Linked DNA regions of Homo sapiens: all the other regions are linked to region 1. Evidence: promoter capture Hi-C in 16 types of primary human blood cells and fetal thymus (Javierre and others, 2016). All regions are on one chromosome and are shown on one strand. The core of a region is centred on a gene start or on the middle of the fragment in contact, and the rest is flanking DNA. Distances in the headings are between cores, read along the strand shown. Region 1 holds the start of SYBU (syntabulin). Region 2 overlaps NUDCD1 (NudC domain containing 1). Region 3 overlaps PKHD1L1 (PKHD1 like 1).

Region 1 (4,203 bases), core at 613-3,112:
ATTAACTTTAAAAGTTTGTTCTTATCTCACAGTATATGATCCCAGGCTCATAATTTTAGGAATAATAAGTTGTATGAATCATCCTGGACCATCACTTTCCTGAGGTCCATATTTGAAACAGCTGTGGGTGTAGAAAGTATGAATTAATCACCTCTTCTTCCCAAATAAAGAATCTTAAAATTACCAACCTCACTGCTTGAGAGAGCTAAGTAGATTGAAAAGGCATGAAGATTTATGGAGGAAGCTCTCTTTTGGAGTTATAGGAAGAAGGGAAATTGATTCCACTAATCCTCTGGCTTCAGGCTCTCTCTAGACTCACAACATATATTCTTAGGCTTGAGAGTTGAGGACTCAGAAATGCTGTTTGGAGGATGGATGAAAGGGGACAATGACCCTCAGTTTTCGAGGAGCACAGTCCTCCTATGTAGGACACTGGTGCATAAGGATCAGAGTGTCGCACTGCTTGGAATATTCTCCAATTCTGAATAAAGGGTATATAAGTCATTATACATGGTGAATTCCACCACCAGATAAGATTTAAGGGTAGCAATTGTAATAAATCAAGGCCCTTGGCCCAGCTGATGTACCCTATTCTAAGTCCCCAGTTGGACAGATTTTCGAGCTTTCTTAAACAAATTTGTGTGCATCACAAATGCTTTTTCTGCCTGTCATGTAAAAGGCATCAACAAATATTGACTGGATCATCTGGACCTGACTTAGCTGCCCTTTGGAAAGTTCTGTTCAATCAGCTGGATAGAGCTGTTTGTTTTCCTCACCTAACCCTCACAGCTATCCTAGAGGTAGGTATCACTATTATTATCCCTCAATTTAACAAGGGTAAATTTGAAGTTCAGAAGGGTCAAGAACCGTAGGCGTAGGCCACGCATGCAATGGCATCCGCATGTAATTCGAGCACTTTGAGAGGCCTGGACGGGATGATCCCTTGATCCCAGGAGTTAGAGGTTGCAGTGAGCCCTGATCGCGCCACTGTACTACAGCCTGGGCCACAGAACGAGATGCCGTTTCAACAGCAACGGAAAAAAAAAAAAACAAAAAACGAAACAACAACAAAAACTTTAGGCATAAAGGCACTCAGGCTGAAGGGACCGATTGGAGTGCTGGCTTGAACTCGTTTTTCTGAGTTCAATTCCAGTGCTCTTCCCTTAGCAGTGTGCTGGAGCTACTTCCTGGAGCCGGGCAGCTGCAGGGCAGCGCTGGGGAAAAGACTGTTCTCTGGCTACATAGCAGCCTGGCTTCTCCAAGCCGGAGGGAGCTGCGCTGACCACTGAAGGCCTTTCTGATGCAACCCCTTCCAAGTAGAATCCATCGCAGCCTTTCAGATCCCGGAACCCAGAGGCTGTGTCGGTCCTGACGCACTGGCTTGGCTGGGCTCCGGTACGAGAGGGATCTCTGCAGCTCTCGGGCGAGGCAGTTGTGGGGAGCTGTAGGCTGACTTAAGACCTGGAGGCCAAGGAGGGGTGGCCAGGGGAAAACTTTCTCTATTTTGTCTCTCTGTGATGTCGCAGCTTTTCTCAGTCACTCCATCCAACGCCACCCACTTCAAACCTGAGATCAAGTGCAAAAAAAAAAGAGGGTGGGGTCACCCCTGGGCTGGAGATGCCGCTAGCCGCAGCCTGCCTACACCGGGCCGAGCTCCTTGGAGAGGGAGGGACACCGGCTCTGGCTGGGGGGGCGCGGAGTGCCGTGGGGAAATCGGGCGGGTGGGGCGCGCCCAGGCGCGGTCGAGTTGCCCCGAAGGCCGCAGGTGAGGGAGGGCGTGGGAGGCGCCCCAGGAGCTGCCTCTAGCGAGTGCGGCACCACGTGTCCGGCCGGGGCGGGGTCGGGCGTGCCCTCGGAGCCCAGAGCAATCGGCGGCAGTGGCGGCGGCGGCGCGTTGGAGCCTCACCAAGAGCCGCCGCCCGCAGCCCGCGCCGGCTCAGCGCAGTCTCCTCGCTCCGTGCTCGCAGGTGCCTCCTCCTGGACGGCGGCAGCGGCGGCGCGAGGAGCCGGCGGGCAGCGGCGCGATGGGGCCCCTCCGCGAGAGCAAGGTAAGGAGCGCGGGGCAGTGCGGGCACTGGAGGGCGGGGAAGGCGGGCACTGCGGGGCGAGAAGCGGCGGGATGAGAGCTGGAGGGGTGACATTTAGAGTCTGGGGAAAGGTGGAAGGAGGTGGTGGTGGGGTCTGGAGAAGGCAGGAGGCATTGCTTAGGAGTTGAGATCCAGGAGATGGGGAGGTGGTACTGGAGGAATAGATTTTGGAGAATGACATGATTGGAGGGTTAATCCCACCTCCTGAAACTGGGACTGTGGGGTGTAGCTTTCAGTTGATATCCTGTGTGTGTGATGTGAATGAAAGGAATTTGATGCATCCGCGACTGGGAAAAGAGGACTCCCGCGTGTCAGTGACCCTGCCTTAGCTCAGGGTCTGCGGTGTGCCCGGCGGAGTGGCTGGCGCATGGTACCTGCTGGGCGGCAGATGTGCAGGGCGAATCCGAGGCTGCGTGCGGCTGGCGGCCCCCGGGTAGAGTGGATGCCTGAGGGCCCTCCGAAGTTCCCCATTGCTGAGGTTTACCCTTCAATTTATGCCATGTGCCGGCCTCCCAGAGGTGTTTATTTTGGCCGTGACCCTTCCTGGTAAGCCGGTGGAAGGAACAGTAGGTCATGTTTCGAAAGGGTGTTTGTTACCTAAGCCAAAGAGTCCCTTTCAGTGGCAGAGGTTGGAGGAAGCAGTGGAATTTTTGCAAAACGCTCCTCCTAGGAATCCATTTTCATAAGGCAGGGTGGTGGTGACCCTGCAAAGCACTGGATTTGAATTTCGTTCTACTTCTGGCATGGTGTGCAGAATTGCCTAAGCATCTCTACCCCATTTAGCCTGTTTCCTCATCTGAAAATAGGGACATTCATTGGTGTGCTCTCTATGTACAGTCTGGTGTGTAAAGATCAAATGAGAAAATGGTTGGAAAAGCACTTTATAAGTTGGAAAACATTGTGAAAATATTACTGTTACGCATTTTTAAAACCACGAAATGGCAGGGTACTTCATGCTGCGTTTTTAAGGAGAAAGAAAAATCTCTTCTTATGGATGTCCTGTAAGGAAAACAAAAATTAAAGATGATGTAAAAGGTGGAGCCATCTTCCCGAGTATCGGATTTGTGTTTGCTTTTCTGTTGGCAACAAGCCTTGTGTACCAGGATATTAACGAATAATTAAGATCCTGTCCAGAAGAGGAGGGATTTTAAAGATAATTGTGTGTGAGCTATCAGGAAATAACTGTTCCAGGTATAGGGTTCAACTTTGTGAGGAGACAAGAAAACAAGTCAGACTGTCACAGCTAATTTAGGGAAAGCAAAATGGAAGTCTGAAGGCTATCAAGTAAGCCAGAGTGTGGTGTTAATAAAGAGCCTTTGGGAGGCAGAAGCTTGAATGTGATAGAAGTCAGGGTGGGAAGGTGAGTCAGGACCAGCATAGGGAAGTAGGATGGCCTTCCAGCTAGTGAGTGGAGGTGTGTATATGTGTGTGTGTGTGTGTGTGTGTGTGCCACACAGACATGTGCTATTCAGTAGATTAGAAAGGTTAACTCATTGGAAGAGTTTTGAAGCTCATTTCAGCAACTGAGATAAGAAGGACTACTCTGTGAAGACTCAATACTCAGAAATGTGATTTCTTAGAAATTGATCCTTGAAGGAACCGACAGGAGTTAAGAGAGGGAAACGCGTTTCCTTTTGTTTTCTTTTTTGATGTCCAATTTTGAGAAGGAGCACAGAGTGCAGCATCATGACAAGGAGATTTCTCGAAGCCGAATTCCCCGGTTGATTCTTCGGCCCCATATGCCCCAACAACAGCACAAAGTGTCCCCAGCCTCTGAGTCTCCTTTCTCTGAGGAAGAGAGCAGAGAGTTCAACCCCAGCAGCTCTGGGCGCTCAGCGAGGACCGTTAGCAGCAACAGCTTCTGCTCAGGTACAGTACCCTCGGGAGGCCACCAGAGGCGTGAAGCGTGTGCACTGCAGGTGCATTGTGAATGGGCCCATACTGGGTCCCTTATAGCCTAGAACTACACTTCTACTATTAGGATGAATTGTAGAAGGTGGTACATTTCTGGCTGTTGTGACCTACAAACACAGCAGTTTCATATAGTTCAGTTTATTGGAATCTCACACCTGAATTTTCATATGTTATTCTAGCTTATAATTTCGAATGTAAAATC
Region 2 (4,203 bases), core at 826-3,325, 330 kb after region 1:
GGGTGGGTCTCTGAACTGGCCCCCCTGGGCATGGTCGTCTCTTATGGTCGAGACTGCAGAGGTGAAATAGATTCCAGTCTCCCATAGTGCTCCCAGGCTTATTAGGAAGAGGAAATTCCTGCCTAATAAATTTTGGTCAGACCGGTTGATCTCAAAACCCTGTCTCCTGATAAGATGTTATCAATGACAATGGTGCCTGAAACTTCATTAGCAATTTTAATTTCGCCCCAGTCCTGTGGTTTTGTGATCTCGCCCTGCCTCTACTTGCCTTGTGATATTCTATTACCTTGTAAACTACTTGATGTCTGTGACCCACACCTATTCGCACACTCCCTCCCCTTTTGAAAATCCCTAATAAAAACTTGCTGGTTTTTGCGGCTAGTGGGGCATCATGGAACCTACTGACATGTGATGTCTCCCCCGGATGCCCGGCTTTAAAATTTCTCTCTTTTGTACTCTGTCCCTTAATTTCTCAAGCTGGCCGATGCTTAGGGAAAATAGAAAAGAACCTAGGTGAATATTGGGGCAGGCTCCCTGATGAAATGATATATATTCTTAAAATAAACTTTTCATCTTTGCATATACGTTTATATGCCGAGTTTTCTCCAACCTTGTCTTACAGCACTTTGTATACTACATTCTAGCCATACTAAACTCTTGCAGTTCCTGAGACATGTGCTGTATCCTATTTCTTCTGGTCCTTTTCTCATTGATTAACTACCTGGAGCATACTTTTAATTCAGTGTCAGTCTGCTTTGCAATCTTTACTTAAGTCCTAGGTAACCATTTTGTCATCTAGCAAGCTTGCCTTGACATCTTACCTCTGTTCCCCTAGGAATATTCACACCATTGGCTCTCAAATCTACATGTGCTGTGAATTTCTTCTATTCTAGAGGTTGATACGCTTTTCTGCACAAGGCCAGCTAATTTAGGCTTTGTGGGCCAGATAGTCTCTTGTTGCTCGCTTTTGCTGTTGTAGTGTGAAATCAGCCATAGACAGTTTATAAGCAAGTGAGTGTGGCCGTGTTCCAATTAACCTTTATTTACAAAAACATAAAATGGGCCGAGCGCGGTGGCTCACGCCTGTAATCCCAGCACTTTGGGAGGCAGAGGCGGGCGGATCATGAGGTTAGGAGATCGAGACCATCCTGGCTGACACGATGAAACCCTGTCTCTACTAAAAATACAAAAAATTAGCCAGGCGTGGTGGCAGGTCCCTGTAGTCCCAGCTACTCAGGAGGCTGAGGCAGGAGAATGGCGTGAACCTGGGAGGCAGAGCTTGCAGTGAGCAGAGCTTGCAGTGAGCCAAGATCGCACCACTGCACTCCAGCCTGGGCCACAGAGCAAGAGTCCGTCTCAAAAAAAAAAAAAAAAACATAAAATGGGCAGGAATTGGCCTGTGGACTATAGTTTGCCACCCACTGGACGAGGCCATGGGTTCTAGCACCCAGCAGAAGGCTTGATCAGTATATTTGTTGAATGGATAATAGCTGTGTAAAGTTCATTATTACTGTTGGGAGTTGGCTTTGGAATAGGGTCTTCCTCCTGTTATTTCTAATCCAAGTGTAGGTATGAGTTCTGTATTGGCAATGCAGTGTTTATCTCAAAATGTTCAGAAAGGAGTTAGACATTTCCTGGTAATAAATATTTTCCTTCAGGTGACTCCTAAAACAGATAGTGTAAAATTCTGATTGTTTCTTGTTGGATCAGAGGAATGCAATCTGGCCTCTTACTCTTAGATATTAGTTGCTTTTTCTTGCTAGCCCCATGTTCTACTAAGGATTACTATCTAGGCCCAATGTGTATAAGCCAACTAAAGTGATAGGACATGCATTTTTATGAGTGGCTATGCTCTGATCTCTCTGATCAAATAAATTTTAATGATCAAATAGATTTTGATGTAGAGTTCTGTGTGTATGTGCATGAAAGTTTTTCCTTAATCCTTTTTGTGTTAACAAATAGGGCATTTGTTGATAGCATTTGCTGTACCATAAAGTTTGCCAATAACATTTATTCTACCAATTTTCTGACTCGAAGTCAGATGACATTATGGTAGATCTGAAAGTGTTAATTTTTGTAGTACCATCCATATTCATAATCTATTTTACTTTTCCATAGATATCTTGTGGCACATGTAATGTAGCTCTAATACGTGTTGTTAGGGAGGTAGGGTAGTTGGTCAAAAGGAAACTAGACATTTAAGACAGACTTACCAAATGAGTTCATTTTAACGTGTTTATTGAAAACCTGCTCTGTGTAGGACACTAATGTATAGGTTGGTGCAAAAATAAAAACTGTTTTACCATTATTTTTAACATGTTCAAGTACTTATACTTCTACATATAAGTTCAGGTAACTTATATGTTATACTTTTTAGGTGCTAATATGAGTGTACAGGTAACTATTACATGGTAATATGTAGCTGACAAAAAGGGTACAGCAGTCTCCATATATCCTTGGCTTCAGTTTCATAGAAAATAAGAATAATGATAAGGTTTTTTAGACGTTAAAGCAAGGTGTGTGAAAATGCTTTGAAAAGTGGAAGGCATTATGCAAATATAAAGAGATATTACTGGCATATGCCTTGGGGTATCACTTTATGGGAGACAAACACTGGCTAGTTTTTTTTGCACATATTCCTTCTTTGAGAGCAGTAGAACTGTATGATAAGAATAAATCATAATGTCAGGTAACTTTTATTGCATAGAGATTATTACATATCAGGAACAATTCTAAACACTTTACACGTACTAACTGTTTAATCCACAGAACAATGGATCCTGTGGATCCTTTCTCATAGGATAATATCCTGATATTATCCTGATATACCAGATACTATTATTATCCACATCTTACAGTTGAGGAAACTGAGGCATAGGATGTTTGTAAGAGTCTGGATTTAAACTCATTTATTCCAGAATGCCACAGTGCTCTACCAGTTCTCCTTATTTCTTGTTAATAGAGACGGATATTATGTGTTAATAGAGACAGAGTTTCACCATGTTGCCCAGGCTGGTTTTGAACCCCTAGGCTCCAGAGATCCGCCTGCCTCAGTCTCCCAAAGTGCTGGAGGATTACAGGCATGAGCAACTGCTCCTGGTCTCTATTATCATTTTCAGTGCCAGTTCTCTAATCACCTGTTCAGTTTTTTGTGCAGTAATGGGTTTATTCAAAGTGTGTTTCTAGGGTAATTTTGTAATATGTATTTTTATTAGAGGAAACCATCAGTTTCCTCTTAGGTTTCCAAATATGCTGCTATAAAGTTGCATGCGTTATGCTCTTAAGATTATTGTTGTCTTTTCTCTTTCCTTTCTATATTTTTCCTCTTTTTACCTAATCAAGCTTTAGGAAAGGTATTAGTTTATTTTTAAAGAACCATGTTTTAGGTTCTTAAAGCTTGTTTTCTGCTTAATTTTCTTTGGTTCTCAGACCATATTGTACCTTGGAATAATTGTGGAGTAATTGATCAAAACAAAAACTAATTTCAAGGTACCATTTCCCAAAATTCTGATTCATTATTGTCAGGGTTGGTCATGGACTGGGAACCTGCATTTTATCAAGCACCTCAGGTGGTTTTGCTTGTGGTCCAGGGATGACCAGGTATTAAGAAATTTTGTACCTGGGATACAGAAGAATACTACACTTATTTTTTATTATTTTTCTCATCAGCAACAAATGAAATCAACCTACTCTGAGTTTCTGTCAGGTGCAGGCAGGTAGAGAATGTTGACCACTAACTAGACTATTGGCTTATAGCAGAAAACAGCTCTTCCAATATCCATTTTATTGTTTAATAATTTTTTTTGTTTTCTTTTGTTTTCATCAAAGGCACACGTGCACAAATCCTAGACAGGCTCCTTTTCTGTGACTGATGTACAAATGACCACCTTTGTTAAACCTGAACTGTTGTAGTAAAAGTGAATGCTATGGGACCCAACACTTGAAAGCCATAGGTTGCTAGGTCTTCAGACTGTCTGGAGCCAACAGGTGGCAGCAGGTCTACATACTGGTTTATAAAGACAGAATACTCTCCTTACAAAAAAGTTTAACTTGTAGGTTTACAGTCCTTAATTTTAGGGAAATGTCCCTCGGAAAGAAGTGTGCTAAGGAAGTAGAAAATGCCTTGGGAAAGCAAAAATGTGTTTAAACTTTGGTTTTTTAATACATCCTTATTTTATATATTATGGCTTATTTTAAAGTAAT
Region 3 (4,203 bases), core at 625-3,124, 260 kb after region 1:
ACATATAAAATGTTAAATATCTCTACTTGGAAGTTCTTTTATTACACATAAGGAATTAGTATGAATATTTTCAGAAATTATAGATGCATACAAATGTGATTTAATTAAAGGTTCTATTCTATAGAATTCCAGATAAATCTTTATTTCACTCATTAAAACCTTTTAAATTGCTTGTTTTACAAAATTATGTATTTGTATGTGTGTGTATATATACCTCACCTTTACAGCATTCAAAAAATTCTCTAATTGCTGAGTGTCTATCTGAATTGTTTAACTTATCCATTTACCTGTTTTATGCATGAGTTTGATAAACATAAAATATCTTGAAAGCCATAATCATGAGTCTACACTTTTTTCTGTAGGAAATAAACAGGACTTTCAGTCTTTAAAGGCAGGACTGAAATAACACCATCTATGCTACAGGAGGAAACTCTAGTGACAACGCTAGTTTTTAGTCCAAAATGTGGACAATTATTTTTTTGACATTAGCTAACTAGCCAAGGTTACTATCTAGTTCACAGCTGGCAAATGGACAAAACAGGATTCAAAGCTTGGCCTGTTAATGAGTTATTGACAATGTTTGGTTTCAGCACTTGCCTGTACATCATGAAGCAGTAGAAAATGTGTCAAAACTGTGTTACGAGACTGTGTTCTACTCCTGACCCTGACTAAGCTTTGTGATCTCTAGGCCTCAGGTGTTTTTATACACAAAATGAGACAGTTAGATTAAGTAATAAAGACCTCTAGTAATAAAGTTGTATGACTATAACTCAATTACTATTGGACTTGTCTGTGTGTTTCTTCTGTTAATAAATCCATCACAAAACAATAAGAAATTACACCAGACCAAAAAAGAATGACATATCGACCATTGCTTTTGTGTCAATGAATCTTCCAATAGTCTGTTTTACTTTCTATAATATGGCTGAAAAAAAAAACACTGGTTAGTTATATTACATTGTAATGGGATTTAATATCATTGGACCCATTATTTTTATAATATTACTTCTCATTTATGAGTTATAAGAATATATTTCCACATCAAAAGATTACCTCAAAATCCTAACATTTTTCCCATTTGAGCTTAGTGCAATATTACTTCCATAGACATCAGTGAAGATTCTGCCTTGGATTGTTATTAGTGTACCTGAAAACAAACAAAAACCCCAAAAAGATTCTGTGTAAGAAAATCTATCCATACACTTAATACGAAAACATAAGAGATTTTCCCAATAAAACCAGGACCCAGACACTTATACCTCATGTTTGCCACTATTGTTTAGCATTGTTCTGAAAGTTCTAGCAAACACAATAAAATATGAATGAGTATCTGTAAATATTCATTGAGTAAAGAAGTGTAGCATAGAAGACAGGATGGTATTCCACAAGTACAGCTTGGGTCAATCGGTGACTATTTGAGAAAAAAAAAAAAAAGATCTCTGTACCAAAAAGTAAGAGAAATCTTAGGTGAAATAAAAATGAAATATAAAAAATAAAACCATAACAATTATTGAAAAATAGGTGAAAATTTATATAATATTTATATAGTTAGGTTAGTAGGGCCTCCCACCCATTTTTAAATGCTATTTAAAAATGAAGAAAAAACAACAAACGTTAAGATCTATAGATGTGATAATAAAAATAAAAGGTTGTCTGATGACAGAAAAATCATTAACATGTTTTAAAAGTAAATGATAAATTCAAAATATATGTCTTACATATAACATATAAATGGTTAATATCCTTTTTTAAGGATATATAAAGAATCCTTGTAACTTAATAAGAAAAATGGTGAATAACTTTAAATTAAGCCAAAGAGATAAACAGGTAATGTATAAAAGAAGGAATACAAATGGTCAATAGGCAAAAAATAAGTTTAATTACATAAATTAAAGAGTTGGAAAAAAATTTAAAACTACTGTATCTTGTATATTAATTCTTGAAAAAATAGTACCTAGAATTGTCAAGGTTATACATTCTCTGTTATTGCCATTGGGATTATAAACTGGAATAATATAGTTATTATAATGAAACCCTGGAAACCAGTTGAATGTATAAGTGGTGGGGGTGGGAGGTGATAAATACATTATAGTAGATGAAGATATAGCCATTGAAAATCAATTTTTTAAAATATTGGTACTTTTTTCTTTTTTTTCAGATAGGATCTTGCTCTGTCATGTAAGTTCAATCATGTCTCACTGCAGCCTCACACTCCTGGGCTCAAGTGATCCTCTCGCCTCAGCCTCCGGAGTAGCTGGGACTAAAGGTGCTTGCCACCAAGCCTGGCTAATTTATTTATTTTTATTTTTTAGAGAGAGGGTCTCATGATGTTGCCCAGGCTGGTCTCAAACTCTTGGGCTCGAGGAATTCTTGCATTTTGGCCTCCCCAAATGCTGAGATTGCAGGCATGAGCCACCGCGCCTGGCTGATAGTTATTTTTATAATGAAAAAAATGCTATTTAAAAATTGCAGGAATTATACTAATTTCATATACTAAAAAATAAACACATTATTTACCATGAAACCAAAAGTTATTTCAGATGTCATATAACAGACCTGGAGTTCCAGATAAAGGTGTGATGCTTCTTATTGTTGGGGTTCTAAAACTTTTTGCCTGTAAAAAGAATAATGTCAATATGAAAACTTATCTCTGTTTTGTTTCTAGTTTTGTGAAATAGATAATTTCTTACATTACTAAATTTCAACAATATTCATAATGTAACTGTCATGTAGGAAAGAAGATATTTAAATAAGATGAACCTAAGAGTTAAATTAGAGGATAGGATCATCGTGGTTTTGCTTCTTAATAGCTGTGGGGCTGAAAGAGAAGGGAGAGAGAAACCAAGAATGGTAACAGGTTTCTAACTTGAGATGGTGAGAAATAATCAGAGAAAAAGTAGATTTAAGGAGGAATACAAAAACTGCAGTTTGATGCTCAATTTAGGTCGCTTTAAGACCATTTAGGTGTGACATACCAGAAAACCAAACAGAGTTCCACGTCTGGGGAAACAGAAGAAAGCCAGAGATATCTGGGAATCGTATTTGGCAATATATTTTGGAATCATAGAAGCTTCTTGAAGACAGATGTCATTATTGTTTTCTTCAGTATTTCATCTTATATTAGAACATTGTACTACTCAGTAATTGACAACTTAAAACTAATATATATAAACTATTTATATATAAATATTTATATAAAAATAGTTTTATATATATTTATATATTATATATACTTATAATATATTTATATATTATATATTATATATAATATATAATTATACGTAATATATAATATATAATATACATACTATATAATATATTATAATATATAATATAAAATATATATTATATATAATATTAATTATATATTATGTATAATTGTATAATTATACATAATATATAATTCTATTATATATTATATAATTATCTATTATATATGTTATATATAACTATATATAATATATAATTATATTATATAATATATAATTATATATAATTATATATATTATTGTATATATTATATATAAATATATATAATATATACAATAATATATATAACTATATATTATATATAACTATTTATATATTATATATAATAACTATTTATATATAAAATATAATTATTTATATATATAACTAATTTAATTATATATATATGGGATAATGCTTAGAAGAAAATGTATTACTGCTAATACTTCTATTTAGGGCAGCTAAATTTTGAGTGGCTCTTACACCACATGCAGGCACATTTTATCTCATTACGTTAGAAATTACGTAGAAAGGAAAGGTAGTTACTTCGATTAAAATAGGAAAAGGGAGAATCACACTAAGAGTAGAAGTAGAGATAAAGGGGAAAATATGAACAAGAAAACATGTTTGAAGTACAAAAGTTTAATTTAATAGTAAAATTAAAGGAGGGGAAACAAATCAGAAATAACAGACATTAAATTACTATGGAAGATAATTTAAATTGAGGGAAATTATCCTTTGTTACATGCTAATGTATTTTTAAATGTGGAAATAGTCTATAAAACTAAAAAGGAAAAATTCAGTTCTGCAGGAAAGAAAGCAAGATCAACTATACATAAACTGAAGAGAAGATTCCTACATACGTTGAAGGTACATTCCCAGCTGTTGATGTGACCTTTGCAGGTGTTATTTTCCGTAACAGGAACCCCGTCCACACTGACTCTAACAGTGTAG

The links. The method cuts DNA at HindIII sites, captures the fragments that hold promoters and counts their contacts. A CHiCAGO score of 5 or more calls a contact.
Region 2: a fragment that was not itself captured here is called in contact with the fragment with the promoter of SYBU in region 1 in 3 of 17 cell types (total B cells, naive B cells and naive CD4 T cells); the score reaches 6.8 in total B cells.
Region 3: a fragment that was not itself captured here is called in contact with the fragment with the promoter of SYBU in region 1 in 1 of 17 cell types (total B cells); the score reaches 7.6 in total B cells.

Annotation. Positions count from the first base shown.
Region 1 is chr8:109,642,481-109,646,683 of GRCh38, reverse strand. It overlaps SYBU (syntabulin), which reads left to right and starts at 1,862. Exons shown (of 7, transcript NM_001099754.2): 1 at 1,862-2,048; 2 at 3,752-3,956. The coding sequence starts at 2,025. SYBU-AS1 (SYBU antisense RNA 1) reads right to left here and starts at 2,555. Exons shown (of 2, transcript NR_161375.1): 1 at 2,462-2,555; 2 at 1-1,566. RefSeq lists enhancers at 1,178-1,497, 1,159-2,095 and a silencer at 1,608-2,097. The HindIII fragment of the contact is 4,274 bases long and covers 1-3,419 here.
Region 2 is chr8:109,316,131-109,320,333 of GRCh38, reverse strand. The region is part of intron 2 of NUDCD1 (NudC domain containing 1); the gene reads left to right. Among named protein-coding and RNA genes, the nearest start is that of NUDCD1, 16 kb to the left of the region's middle. RefSeq lists an enhancer at 1-457. The HindIII fragment of the contact is 2,539 bases long and covers 806-3,344 here.
Region 3 is chr8:109,382,481-109,386,683 of GRCh38, reverse strand. It overlaps PKHD1L1 (PKHD1 like 1), which reads right to left. Exons shown (of 78, transcript NM_177531.6): 4 at 4,113-4,203; 5 at 2,557-2,614; 6 at 1,054-1,147. Among named protein-coding and RNA genes, the nearest start is that of PKHD1L1, 22 kb to the right of the region's middle. The HindIII fragment of the contact is 2,397 bases long and covers 676-3,072 here.